Linked DNA regions of Homo sapiens: regions 1, 2, 4 and 5 are each linked to region 3. Evidence: promoter capture Hi-C in 16 types of primary human blood cells and fetal thymus (Javierre and others, 2016). All regions are on one chromosome and are shown on one strand. The core of a region is centred on a gene start or on the middle of the fragment in contact, and the rest is flanking DNA. Distances in the headings are between cores, read along the strand shown.

Region 1 (2,700 bases), core at 168-2,667, 360 kb after region 3:
TCACAAAATTCATTTGGAATTATAGAACCAAGATTAACTACGTAGGTGTGCATTGTGGATTGCATTCTGCCAGTGGCCCTGGCTTACCAAATATGCACTGAACTTGTCTTGGGTTCTATGGTCTAGTCCTTTTTTAAGACTTAAAGAAGGGATCCAGTTTCAGCTTTCTACCTATGGCTAGCCAGTTTTCCCAGCACCGTTTATTAAATAGGGAATCCTTTCCCCATTTCTTGTTTTTGTCAAGTTTGCTACAAAAATTAACTCAAGATGGATTAAAGACTTAAATGTTAGACCTAAAACCATAAAAACCCTAGAAGAAAACCTAGGCAATACCATTCAGGACATAGGCATGGTCAAGGACTTCATGACTAAAACACCAAAAGCAATGGCAACAAAAGCCAAAATTGACAAATGGGATCTAATTAAACTAAAGAGCTTCTGCACAGCAAAAGAAGCTACCATCAGAGTGAACAGGCAACCTACAGAATGGGAGAAAATTTTTACAATCTACTAATCTGACAAAGGGCTAATATCCAGAATCTACAATGAACTCAAACAAATTTACAAGAAAAAATCAAACAACCCCATCAAAAAGTGGGCAAAGGATATGAACAGACACTTCAAAAGAAGACATTTATTCAGCCAACAGACACATGAAAAAATGCTCATCATCACTGGCCATCAGAGAAATGCAAATCAAAATCACATACCATCTCACACCAGTTAGAATGGCGATCATTAAAAAGTCAGGAAACAACAGGTGCTGGACAGGATGTGGAGAAATAGGAACACTTTTATACTGTTGGTGGGAGTGTAAACTAGTTCAACCATTGTGGAAGACAGTGTGGCGATTCCTCAAGGATCTAGAACCAGAAATACCATTTGACTCAGCCATCCCATTACTGGGTATATACCCAAAGGATTATAAATCATGTTGCTATAAAGACACATACACATGTATGTTTATTGCGGCACTATTCACAATAGCAAAGACTTGGAACCAACCCAAATGTCCATCAATGATAGACTGGGTTAAGAAAATGTGGCACATATACACCATGGAATCCTATGCAGCCATAAAAAAGGATGAGTTCATGTCCTTTGTAAGGACATGGATGAAGCTGGAAACCATCATTCTGAGGAAACTATTGCAAGGACAGAAAACCAAACACCGCATGTTCTCACTCTTAGGTGGGAATTGAACAATGAGAACACTTGGACACAGGAAGGGGAACATCACACACTGGGGCCTGTTGTGGGGTGGGGGGAGCGGGGAGGGATAGCATTAGGAGATATACCTAATGTAAATGACGAGTTAATGGGTGCAGCACACCAACATGGCACATGTATACATATGTAACAAACCTGCATGTTGTGCACAGGTACCCTAGAACTTAAAGTATAATAATAATAAAAAAAAAGACTTAAAGAAACAAACGAAACTTATCTTGCCGCTTATTTGTCCCTTATTTTCCCACCATTAAAAGCTCATTTGATGTTCCCTTACATATCCTGCTTAATTTCTCTGAACCTTAATTTCCCTGCTATAGCATAAGTATGTCAGATGGCATCCTTAAGTTTCTTTCTATTGACTGAACACCCCCTCTGGTGTTGTGTTTATAAATAGTGGAGACAAAAATGCAGCAAGACAGGAGAAAGGAAAGCTCTGGATTGTCAACTCATAAAATAATCCAGACTGCGATTACCAACTCCATTTCAGCGGCTGCATCTTTTTTTGATTCTTCTATGGGCTTAAGGTGGTGGTAGTTATATGGGTGAATGTAAAATATCTTTGTGGAATTTTAACTCTACAGATTTTAAATTGTTGATTGGATTGCAGTCTCTTTGTAGTACTGCCTATAGAATATTCTCGGTGCCTACCAAGTATTTGACTACTTCATTCTGGCCTAAATATATGGAATGAATTTAGGTATGAATGTTGCTAACATGATTTCTTGTTGCAGACAAAACTTACCTGGGGTCCCTACTTATGGTTTTACATGCTTCGGGCTGCTACATCAACTCTCTCAGGTATTGCTTTTCTGCTTGAATATTGTATAATTGCTGTAACATGCTTCAGCAACAGGAACTTTGCTAAATAGGATGTTTCCAAACTGAAGGAGAAACAATAGGGAGTTAATCACTGTCCTCAAGAGCTAGCTAGCATTGGGAGATAGTAACCTAACTTGTACTTCACATTAAAACATTCTTCAGCTTCCAATATAGTTTATTTTTTGAGGAATGAAAAATGACTATGTTAGTTTAGATATGGTTTTCAAGTTCTTTTTTTTTTTTTTTTTTTTTTTTTGAGACGGAGTCTCGCTCTGTCGCCCAGGCCGGACTGCGGACTGCAGTGGCACAATCTTGGCTCACTGCAAGCTCCGCTTCCCGGGTTCACGCCATTCGCCTGCCTCAGCCTCCCGAGCAGCTGGGACCACAGGCGCCCGCCACCGCGCCCGGCTAATTTTTTGTATTTTTAGTAGAGACGGGGTTTCACCTTGTTGGCCAGGATGGTCTCGATCTCCTGACCTCATGATCCACCCGCCTCGGCCTCCCAAAGTGCTGGGACCACAGGCGTGAGCCACCGCGCCCGGCCTCAAGTTCTTAAACCCTTTCTCTTAACAGCTATTTTGCTGCTTTGTCATTTGGTTTCCAATTGATAACATTCTCAATCTGTCTCACTGCTTATTCTAAAGCCTG
Region 2 (2,700 bases), core at 201-2,700, 290 kb after region 3:
CATCTGGTCTTAACAAAAGAAAAATGATTCAGCATGCTGTATTTAAAGAACTTGTGAAGGTAAAAGTATATGAAGATTATGCTGTGATTCTATACTCAGTGGATAAAAAAGCGTTAGCACTACAAATATTTCAGAATTTTTAAATATGTTTTTTATGGAATATTCATCTGTATTAAAATATTAATGAAAGGATTATTGAGTTTTCTTAGGGACCTTTTTTTTTTTTTTTTTGAGAAGGAGTTTCACTCTTGTTGCCCAGGCTGGAGTGCAACCTCCGCCTCCCGGGTTCAAGCAATTCTCCTGCCTCAGCCTCCCGAGTAGCTGGGATTACAGACGTGCACCACCATGCCCGGCTAATTCTGTATTTTTAGTAGAGACGGGGTTTCTCTATGTGGGTCAGGCTGGTCTTGAACTCCTGACCTCAGGCGATCCGCCCGCTTCGGCCTCCCAAAGTGCTGGGATTATAGGTGTGAACCACTGCACCTGGCCAGGACCTATTTTTATTGTAGACTTTACTGAATATACATAATTCTGAGTGCAGATATGAAAGCTAGTACTATTCCTGCAAAAAATGCCAAAGCCAAGATGCGATGAGTGAAATTTCACTACAGATTTGTTGATGGAAGGGCCTAAGTTTTTCCTCGTTCACTATCATGTTTTGCCTAGTGATGGTCCTGCTTTTGTATGGCAAAGTCACATATAGCAAGTATTCTTTTCTACACTGTTCGTTGTGTAAGGAATTCCCTTTGCAAAGACCATGTATCCCAATTCTTGCCTAGATTATGAGCAATTTTGAATTAGTGAAAGTTTTATTTTCAAATAGTAAATATAGCCAGTTGCCCTGCCTCACCTTATTGCTGATCATGCAAATTATGGTGAAAATCTTAGAGCTTAAAAAATATATATGGGCTCAGTTGTAGAAAAAAAAAGAAAGGAGCTGTTAAAAAAATTATTTTAGTCCAGGCATGGTGGCTCATGCCTGTAATCACAGTGCTTTGGGAGGCGGAGGTGGGAGGATTGCTTGAGGCCAGGAGTTTGAGACCAACCAGGGCAACATAGTGAGAACCAGTCTCTATAAAAAAAAAAAAAATTGATAAAAATAGCTGGTGCAGGCCGGGTGCAGTGGCTCACATCTGTAATCCCAGCACTGTGGGAGGCTGAGATGGGTAACCACCTGAGGTCAGGCGTTCGAGACCAGCCTGGCCAACATGGTGTAACCCCATCTCTGCTAAAAATACAAAAATTAGCCGGGCATGGTGGTGCACATCTGTAGTTCCAGCTACTCCGGAGGGTGAGGCAGGAGTATTGCTTGAGCCCAGGAGTTCGGGGGTGCAGTGAGCCGTGATTGTGCCACTGCACTCCCGACTGGGGGAGAGGGTGAGACCCTGTCTTTAAAAAAAAACAAACAAAAAAAATTTTTTAGAGCATTAGATGCCCACTAGTTCTACAATCATTTTTCCCCCACATTGTTTGAATATTTTCTTTTTTTTTTTTTGACTCTCCCTCTGTCACTCAGGCTGAAGTGCAATGGCATGATCTCTGCTCACTGCAACCTCTGCCTGCCAGGTTCAAGCAATTCTCCTGCCTCAGCCTCCCAAGTAGCTGGGATTACAGGTGTGTGCCACCACGCCCAGCTAATTTTTTTTTGTATTTTTAGTTGAGATGGGGTTTCACCATGTTGGCCAGGATGGTCTCTATCTCTTGACCTAGTGATCTGCCTGCCTTAGCCTCCCAAAGTGCTGGGACTACAACCATGAGTCACTGTGCCTGGCCTCCTTTTTTTTTTTTTTTTTTTTTTTTAAGAGACAGTCTGACTCTGTTACCCAGGCTGGAGTGTAGTGGTGCAATCATGGCTCACTGTAGCCTCAACCTCCTGGGCTCAAACAATCCTCCTGCCTCAGTGCCCCCCAAGTAGCTGGGGCTACAGGTACATGCCACCACGCCCAGCTAGTTTTTGCATTTTTTGTAGAGACAAGGTTTTGCCATGTTGCCCTAGCTGGTCTTGAACTCCTGACCTCAAGTGATCCACCTGCCTTGGCCTCCCAAAGTGTTAGGATTACACATGTCAGCCACTTTGCCTGGCCAGAAATTTTTATTGTTAGGGGCTCGTAACTGTAGGCAATTCTGGAGCATCAAGTGCTTTATTAAGAAGCATTTATTGAGTACCTACTTTATTTCAGGAAGTATGCCAAATGCTGCTGATAGCAGAAATAAATGAGACTGGTTCTTATACTCAGATGCTTATGGTCTAGAGGAATGGTGTACAAAGCAAGGTCAAAATTATTTTCATAATACTAAGACATTATTTGACTTTTGTACTATGTTGACATTTGCACTGAAAACAATGGTAGGTAAAACTCCCTGGTATGAATCAAGGCAGTGGCACCAGATGATACTAGTAGTTTCTGGACTCTCTATTTATTTATTTATTTTTGAAGACAGAGTCCCTGTCATTCAAACTAGAGTGCAGTGGCGTGATCAGAGCTCACTGCGGCCTCAAATTCCTGGGCTCGAGCGATCTTCTCTCCTCAGCCTCCAGAGAAGCTAGGACTACAGGCATGCACCACCATGTTTTTTGTTTGTTTGTTTTTTGTTTTTTTGGTTTTTTTGGTTTTTTTTTTTTTTGAGACAGGGTCTTACTCTGTTGCCCAGGCTGGAGTGCAGTGGTGTGATCATGGCTTGCTGCAGCCTCATCCTCCC
Region 3 (2,700 bases), core at 130-2,629:
TTGCATTTTAAAAGTACTTTTTTCTTTTGTTTTTACACACCAGAATATAAATACTAGGTCTTCTTTCTTAGACTCTTTTGTTTCGTATGTGGCATCGTACAAAGCATATCGGCAATCATTCAGAGGTAGCAACTTCACAAAAGATGTGTAGGGGTCCTCTACAGTATCACCAATGTCACCCACCAAGATCTGCTTTGCTTCCTCTACAATTATTTGTCTTTTGTCATCGCTTAAACAGAAGAGAACTGCTTTCTTTCTCTTTTTGATCTCCTCTTGTGTAGAAGATTTCCTTACTTTCATATCATTAAAAACTTTGATGACTTCATCATTCACTGTAACTCCAGAAGCCTGAAAATAAACACAGAACAGTAATTCAGAACACGTATTTTGGTTTTAACCAAAATTACTGTTTGCCTAGAGAAGACTCACTTTAGTCTGGACATCAAAAATTGCACCGTACCATGTAAGTCGTCCAATCAGATTTGTCACATTTTAAGAATCAGTAGACGATACAGCGAAGGAGTCTAACTCATCCTGCCCATTCATCCTTCTTAAAGGGGTTTGGACGTGGAAGCGAAAGGGACAAATACAAGTTGTCCCATCCCTGAAATGTTTCCTATTTCACTGGGTGATGTCAGAGCTTCAGGAGTGGCAGCAAAAATACCTTCTGTATTGTGTCAACTCGGCTGGCCTTAAAAAAACACTTTTGGATTTCAGTTAATGCTTCTACTATTTTTTTCTTTAAAGTCATCCTAGCCACTGACGTTTCCTCATAAGGAAAGAGAATCAAGTGTAAACTCCAAACCGCCCACGGCCCACACACAGCTCACATGCAGACACTCCAAAACTAACTGATCGAGTGTAAAAGCTTTTACGGCGAGAAAGCATTTTAAAAAGTGTTTTCCCTCTTCCTTAATCTCCCCGTAAGGGTTTTATTACAGGCCGTCCAGACCCTGACCCACACAGCGTTCGCAGCACGTACCAATTTTAAAGCCTCGCGTGTTAAGTAAAATTAGGAAGCGAAGGGCAAAGGCGGCGCGAGCGGCTGCAGTCCGCAGACCCTCTCGCGCCCCCGCCCGCCCGGCCCCGACCCCCAACCTGCGCCGACGCCCGGGCCCTCCCCGCCCCCCAAAATCCAAAGAGCAGCAGGGCAGGGCCTGACGGCCGGAGGGCAGGCCGGTCGGCTGGAGAGCAGCGGAGCCGCAGAGCAGAAGCGCCCACCTTGGAGGCCAAAATCAGGTTAAAATGGCGGCCTCACTCCCGGGGCCGTGCGGGGGGCTTTTCTCGCCTCGCCGCGGCCTCCCGGCCAGCGCGCTCGTCTTACCATAGTGCCCTCGGCTGTGGCTGCGGCGGCAGCTCGGGCTTCGGCTCTGTGGCACTGGGAGGAGAAGGAGGGGCGGGCGAGCGGGTGGGCAGCGGAGAGTGCGGGGCACGCCGGGAGCTGCAGCCCGAGGGAGGTGGCGGGGCTCGGCGGGCCGCAGGCAGCGGGCGGGGCGGTCACGTGGGCACGCCTGGTCCCCAGCCGGCGCCACCCGCTCCCAGGCCGGCCCTTCTGTCTCGCGGCCCCGGCTCCCCGGCTGTCCGCGTCCTCGGCCTGACCTCAGAGCGCGAGCCCTGCAGGCCGGGGGGGGCGACGCGGTGGTAGCGGAGCCCGGGAGCCTGGCAGAGCCGCCTCCAGCCCCCGAGCATCACCCGTCAAGCCGGTGGGAGAGAGTGCTGGGCTCCCAGAGGGGCGTTTCCACCGCCTCCGTAGGGCCCTGCGCCAGGGGTGGGTGCGTGTGAGGGGAACTCCTGCGAAGGTGTCTTTCCTTATTTACCTGTGGTTTTCCCGAAAGAGGCTGGATTTCGACATTTTGAGTCTTTTTGGAAAACCCCCAGTTGTTTAGAGATAAATGAGAATAAATACTACACGAGATTGCTCCAGTTGATAGTACTTAGCAAAAACAAAATGATACGCAGTGTTGGTAAATCACTTTTCAAAACTCTGGTTGAAATAATAATTATGATTAAAAAATTACGTGGTAGCATTCCTTAGTAATATCCTTTTACATTTTAGACTTCATAGGAAATGGATTGTACTCTCTCTTAGAGATTTCATGAAGCTCCAGCTATGACAGCTGATATCAAATAAGCCGACGCAGCCTCTTCTAGCAAAGCCCATATAACTGCGCCAAGGCAGTTTCTCTTTTTTTAATCTTAACTCCTCCATACCTCAGGGTTCTTCATGTGTAAAACAAACTGTTATTAAATTATCGTTAAGGCCCTTTCCAGCTTTAGATTTCAGTTTCTGAGTATATCAATGTTCAGTAGGAAATGGTGTGTTTTTGGTGGTCTCAGGATTGAGGTTAGGCAGGAAAGTCATGAGATGGTGTTTGCCCTAGATTGCGTGATAAGTTCTTTCAGCCCAAATTTACTGTATTTTAAATGGAACATGCTAGGCATTGAAACAGACCTATTTTTCTGTCTATATCTTGGGTTTGTTTTCTTAATTGGAAGATAGACTTCGTTTAGAGACAAAAATTGAGAAGGGATTTCCCAATGTCTAAGCATGAATCCCAAGCAAGTGGATAATACTTTATATCTAGCTGGTACATTACAATTTATGGAACCTTTCACTTTATCTGTTGAACTTCCAAGAAGTCATGGAGAATGTCTCTCCAGAGCTCTGATCATCTGCTATGTGTAGGTATTAGCAAATTC
Region 4 (2,870 bases), core at 36-2,535, 440 kb after region 3:
AAAGCAATTTGAGATAAAGCAACCATTTGCAGTGTATGGATCATATTGGGCCCTTAGTTCCTGATTTGAACAATCAGAGGAATCTGAACACCAGTTATTGGAGTTATTAAGACATTTTTGTTGATTTTTATTTAGGGTTAATAATGCTAGTGAGTTAAAACTCTTTTTTTTTTGAGGCAGGGTCTCAATCTGTTACCCAGGCTGGAGTGCAGTGGCACAATCACAGCTCACCACAGCCTCAACCTCCCGGGCTCAGGTGATCATCCCACCTCAGCCTCCTGAGTAGCTAGGACTACAGGTGCCTGCCACCACATCAGCTAAGTTTTGTACTTTTTGTAGAGAGGGGGTTTCACCATGTTGCCCAGGCTGGTCTCGAACTCGTGGGCTCAAGTGATTTCCCATTTTGGCCTCCCAAAGTGCTGGGATTACAGGCGTGAGCCACCATGCCTGACCCAAACTCTTTAGATTCAGAGCTAAACACTGAAATATTTATGGATTAAATGATGTGATGTCTGAGATATGCTTCAAAAATAACTGGGAAATAGGGGATGGAATAGATGGAGTTATATATGAAACAAGATTGGTCATGAGATGATAAAGCTAGTTTATGGGTTCATGGGGATTTATTATACTATTCTGTCTACTTTTATATATGTTTAAGATTTTCATCTTGAAAATCTTTTTTTATAAGCTAACAAAGGGCCAGCTGTGGTGGCTCACAACTGTAATCCCAGCACTTCGGGAAGCTGAGGTGGGAGGATTGCTTGAGCCCAGGAGTTTAAGACAAGCCTGGGCAACATAGCGAGACCTGGTGTCTATTTAAAAAAAAAAAAAAAAAAAAAAGCTGACAAATACACATATGCTTTCAGGATAGAAGTTATGAAAAGGGAGATTATAAAACAGTGCTTTCTTAGTGATTTTCATGCAGAAGCAACATCTTCCTAATCTTCCTATAGTAAAGATTTCCTCAAGTAAACATATTATATATTCATTATAATATAAATAGTATATATTCATTAGAAAGGATATAAACAGTTCAGAAATACCACTATAGAGAATGAAAGTCCCCTTCTTAAAGCAAATTATACTTTTTAAATGCTGAAAATTGTCATGTCATTTGCACGTTTCTTTTTCCATTTTTGAAACGCACAAGATAAAATTTCTTAATAGAGTAGAACAACTAATTTAGATTCAGAGTCAATTCTATAAAGGTTTCCTACTGTACTGCATTGTTTTTGCTTTGCAAAGAGGTTATTAACATTTTTTTTCTGGGTTAGGGGAGGAGTTTGAAAAAATCCTGTACAAGTTAATCCATTGTGTGGTAAAAGCTATAGCTGAAGAGGCAATGTGGAATACTCCAGTGTGCACAACCCCTGCTTTTATCATAGGTGGCAACTGCAGATTAATTCTGGTGTGGTTAGGCATTTCACAAAGGGAAATATGAACCTGAGAGCCTATGTCCCCAACAGTGCTAACTGGGAGATGTGGAGTGTGGGGATTTCCACTCTTTGTTAATAAGATCTCCGGCACATTTCCTCTTTGCTTTTGCATTTTCCTTGGTTATGAAGCAGCTGCAGAGAAGTAAAATGTGATTTCCTGTGTTTAAAAGAGTGCTGGCTTTTCTTTCAGAGACTTAAAATTGGAAGGGTGGAATGCATATGGATTGAGCTACCTACAGGGCTAATTTAAACATAGGTGTTTTATTTTTGTTTTTGTTTTTGTTTTTGTAATGAGTTCACTGCATTTGTGCCAGGAATATTTTTGTTCAGATGTTTTGAATTAGCAGATAACTCAGGTTGTCTCAAAAGCAGGCTTCTCTCTAGGCTGATCACTGCTTTAACAGTGTGATTCTTTGCAAGCTGACTGAAAAACCACTAATGGCAAAAGTGCATTCTGTCATATCAATAAAAATACTGTAGTTCCTTTGCAGATTCATGCAGTATAAATGCTTATCTTGATTATTTAACCTGTAAAATTCTCCAAAATGAGAAAAATAGGCAGAGGGTGTTTTTCAAGAAAATATGATAAGGCCATATCAAGGTACAGTGTCCCCAGATACAATGTCAGTGGGAAATGAAAAGAACTTATTCGCAGAGTAGATGCTTAGGAATCATTAGACTTAGGTGAAAGTTCCTATCATAAATTAATACCTTTTTTTGTAGTCGTTGTCAATATTTCTTGCCCTAATAATGGTAGTTCATTTTTTTCTTTTTTCTTTTCTTTTTTTTTTTTTTGAGACGGAATCTTGCTCTGTCGCCCAGGCGGGAGTGCAGTGGCTCCATCTCGGCTCACTGCAAGCTCCGTCTCCTGGGTTCACGCCATTCTCCTGCCTCAGCCTACCAAATAGCTGGGACTACAGGCGCCCGCCACCACGCCCAGCTAATTTTTTTTATTTTTAGTAGAGATGGGGTTTCACTATGTTAGCCAGGATAGTCTCAATCTCCTGACCTCGTGATCCTCCCGCCTCGGCCTCTCAAAGTGCTGGGATTACAGGCGTGAGCCACCGCGCCCGGACGTTCATTTTTTTCAAAATATACTTAGGAGCCTATCCTAAACATGGGCCAGACCTGTGGATATTTTTGGATGTGGTTTCTTCCCAAGTCATTCACCATTGTGTTGATGGTACAAGGCTTCTCCACTTACAATCAGAGAAACGTCAGATGACTATTAGTAAACAAGAACTGATTATTAAGTACCAGATTAGCAGAGCTGGATGATCAGATCCAAACCACAGCATTCATTGTTCCTGTAAACTATGTGATCAGTGAAGCTAAACTTGTGTTTAAAACCCAGGCACCCGCTGCCACACCCAGCTAATTTTTGTATTTTTAGTAGAGAGAGGGTTTCAGCATGTTGGCCAGGCTGGTCTC
Region 5 (2,700 bases), core at 65-2,564, 310 kb after region 3:
CTACAGAACTAGACAGTACGGATGGTGCCAAAGTTTTTAGTAAACAACCAGGAAGAATCCAAAGAGTAGCAAGAGGATCGGGTGTATCAACAAGAGATGTTCAAGAACTTTTGACACAATATACCAAGTTTGCACAGATGGTAAAAAAGATGGGAGGTATCAAAGGACTTTTCAAAGGTAAGAAAAATAAGCTTGTTATTAGTTAACAGACGGAAAAGAAAGGAAGTTGAGAAAAAAGAGTGCTGCCAGTATTGGAAAATTCACAGCTGAATTTCATGTTATTTTCAAGTACTTCCAGGATTTATGTGACCTGTGATTTATCTGTTTTCATATTCAAGGTAATATTAATATTTAAAAAAAAACTTTACATCTGTGTAGTGTGGGTAAATGAAAAAAAATTAATAAAGCAATGATTTTCTTTTTGTGAACACATTATATTAAATTTAGATAATATAAGGAAAAAAAAAACACATTACCTTTACTCCCCAGAGAATCCAGTGGATCCTACTGCAAATAACAGTTGCTATAACTAAGTTTTCTTCTGATATATCATAACTGTTTTTCCATGTTGTCAAATATTCTTCAAAACATAATTCTTGGCCAGGCACGATGGCTCATGCCTGTCATCCTAGCACTTTGGGAGGCTGAGGCGGGCGGATCACTTGAGGTCAGGAGTTCAAGACCAGCCTGGCCAGCATGGTGAAACCCTGCCTCTACTTAAAATACAAAAAATATCCGGGTGTCGTGGGGTGTACCTGTTATCCCAGCTACTCGGGAGGCTGAGGCAGGAGAATCACTTGAACCCAGGAGGCGGAGCTTGCAGTGAGCCGAGATTGTACCACTGTACTCCAGCCTGGGCAGCAGAGTGAGACTCCGGTCCCCAAACACACACACACACACACACACACACACACACACACTTCTTCTGAGTAATACTGTTTAAGTTATGCATGTATCTTTGTCTAATGTAGTGCCACTTTTTTGGACAGTAAGGCTGATTCATTCACTTCTATATCAGATCAGTTTTTGTGCAGTTCCATGAGACCAGGGATTTTTGCCTGTTTTGATCAGAAACATAGTAGAAGCTAAAAAAATTTTGTAGTAATATAATTTCCATTATATTTCTTTATTTATATTATTTTGAGACAGAGTCTCTCTCTGTCACCCAGACTGGAGTGCAGTGGCACAATCTCGGCTCACTGCAGCCTCTGCTTCCCAGGCTCAAACAATTCTCCTGCCTCAGCCTCCCGAGTAACTGGGATTAAAGGCATGCACCACTACCGCCTGGCTAATTTTTGTATTTTTAGTAGAGACGGGGTTTCACTATGTTGGCCAGGCTGGTCTTGAACTCCTGACCTCAAATGATGTGCCCGCCTCGGACTCCCAAAGTGCTGGGATTACAGGCTTGAGCCACCACGTCCGGCCTCACTTCCATTTTAATGGTTGAATATTTTCTCAATATGTGTTTTTACATTATTAAGTTTAACATTTCTTTGTACATTTACTGGTTTGAATTTACTTTGTGAATCACCTCTTCATGTTCCCTGTCCAGTTCTTCCATTTTTCCCCCTTATATCTTTGTAATAGCTCCTTAAAATCTTTGGTTTATGTCTTCAAATATTTTCCCCCAGTTTTTCATTTACCTTTTATTTTTATTTATATTTTATAATGAACAGTAGTTGCCCTTTTTAATGTAGCCAGCCTATCTTTTTTTATTTCTTTTATGCTCATAAACAGCTTCCCCTTGTTTATTTTTTCCTTTTTTTTTTTTCTTTACAGAGGTAATCAAGTTAACCTTCTCCATGTTGATACCACAGTTGTCACCATTTTCTTCTTTTTTTGAGACAGAGTCTTGCTCTGTCGCCCAGGCTGGAGTGCACTGGCATGATCTCAGCTCACTGCAACCTCCGCCTCCTGGGTTCAAGCTATTCTCCTGCCTCAGTCTCCCGAGTAGCTGGGATTTCAAGCACGTGCCACCATGCCCAACTAATTTTTGTATTTTTAGTAGAGACTGGGTTTCACCATCTTTACTGGCCAGGCTGGTCTCAAACTCCCAACCTCAAGTGATTCGCCCGCCTTAGCTTCCTAAAATGCTCTGGGATTACAGGCATGAGCCACAACACCTGGCTTCTACTTGTTTTTGTTTTTATTTTGTGTTTGACTTTTTAATCTCAATTGAATTTATTTTGCTGTGTATTATGTATCGTAAAAAGATAAGGTTTTCCAAAGACTTCCAACTGTTCCAGTCCTCTTTTTGATTTTTTTCTATAATGTAAACAACTAATTCAGAGTCTGTGAAAATTTGCCTTGAAACCCATTAAAATGAATTTATTGTTTCCAAAAATATTAATTAGACAAGCTCTGAATATGAACAATACCATTGAATAGCTTCTAAAAGAATGAGTATTTCCAGATGTTTTAAATTACCTTTTGTCTTTGAAGCTTTCCTTATTTTCCTTGCGATATCCTATTTTCTCTTTTGTGACAAAAAAATTAGACAAACATGTTGAAAATTGGTTATAATTCCTACCATCACATGCTATTTCAGATAGTGACTAATAAACACATTACATCACTGTAATGTCTTTCCCATGTAGTCCTGACTGTTCTTGATAGAACAGATTCACCATCCAGATCTTATCTATGCATTGATCCCTCAATAAAGGAATAACCCAAGATGAAGTTGGCAGTGGGTATACA

Evidence for each region. The method cuts DNA at HindIII sites, captures the fragments that hold promoters and counts their contacts. A CHiCAGO score of 5 or more calls a contact.
Region 1: a contact is called between a fragment that was not itself captured here and the fragment with the promoter of CFL2 in region 3, in 7 of 17 cell types (total CD8 T cells, naive CD4 T cells, total CD4 T cells and 4 more). The highest score is 6.8, in total CD8 T cells.
Region 2: a contact is called between a fragment that was not itself captured here and the fragment with the promoter of CFL2 in region 3, in 1 of 17 cell types (naive CD8 T cells). The highest score is 5.3, in naive CD8 T cells.
Region 4: a contact is called between a fragment that was not itself captured here and the fragment with the promoter of CFL2 in region 3, in 1 of 17 cell types (naive CD8 T cells). The highest score is 5.4, in naive CD8 T cells.
Region 5: a contact is called between a fragment that was not itself captured here and the fragment with the promoter of CFL2 in region 3, in 5 of 17 cell types (total CD4 T cells, monocytes, naive CD8 T cells and 2 more). The highest score is 5.9, in total CD4 T cells.

The regions. Positions count from the first base shown.
Region 1 is chr14:35,075,186-35,077,885 of GRCh38, forward strand. It overlaps FAM177A1 (family with sequence similarity 177 member A1), which reads left to right. Exons shown (of 5, transcript NM_173607.5): 3 at 1,965-2,031. Among named protein-coding and RNA genes, the nearest start is that of FAM177A1, 30 kb to the left of the region's middle. The HindIII fragment of the contact is 2,843 bases long and covers 1-2,700 here.
Region 2 is chr14:35,000,962-35,003,661 of GRCh38, forward strand. SRP54 (signal recognition particle 54) reads left to right here. Exons shown (of 16, transcript NM_003136.4): 4 at 1-59. Among named protein-coding and RNA genes, the nearest start is that of SRP54, 19 kb to the left of the region's middle. The HindIII fragment of the contact is 3,095 bases long and covers 1-2,700 here.
Region 3 is chr14:34,713,214-34,715,913 of GRCh38, forward strand. CFL2 (cofilin 2) reads right to left here and starts at 1,380. Exons shown (of 4, transcript NM_138638.5): 1 at 1,325-1,380; 2 at 41-348. The coding sequence starts at 1,327. RefSeq lists silencers at 1,077-1,136, 1,227-1,816. The HindIII fragment of the contact is 2,283 bases long and covers 867-2,700 here.
Region 4 is chr14:35,154,740-35,157,609 of GRCh38, forward strand. The region is part of intron 4 of PRORP (protein only RNase P catalytic subunit); the gene reads left to right. All of the region lies in intron 4 of PRORP-PSMA6 (PRORP-PSMA6 readthrough), which reads left to right. Among named protein-coding and RNA genes, the nearest start is that of PRORP, 34 kb to the left of the region's middle. The HindIII fragment of the contact is 4,902 bases long and covers 1-2,870 here.
Region 5 is chr14:35,022,904-35,025,603 of GRCh38, forward strand. SRP54 (signal recognition particle 54) reads left to right here. Exons shown (of 16, transcript NM_003136.4): 14 at 7-177. Among named protein-coding and RNA genes, the nearest start is that of FAM177A1, 22 kb to the right of the region's middle. The HindIII fragment of the contact is 2,251 bases long and covers 190-2,440 here.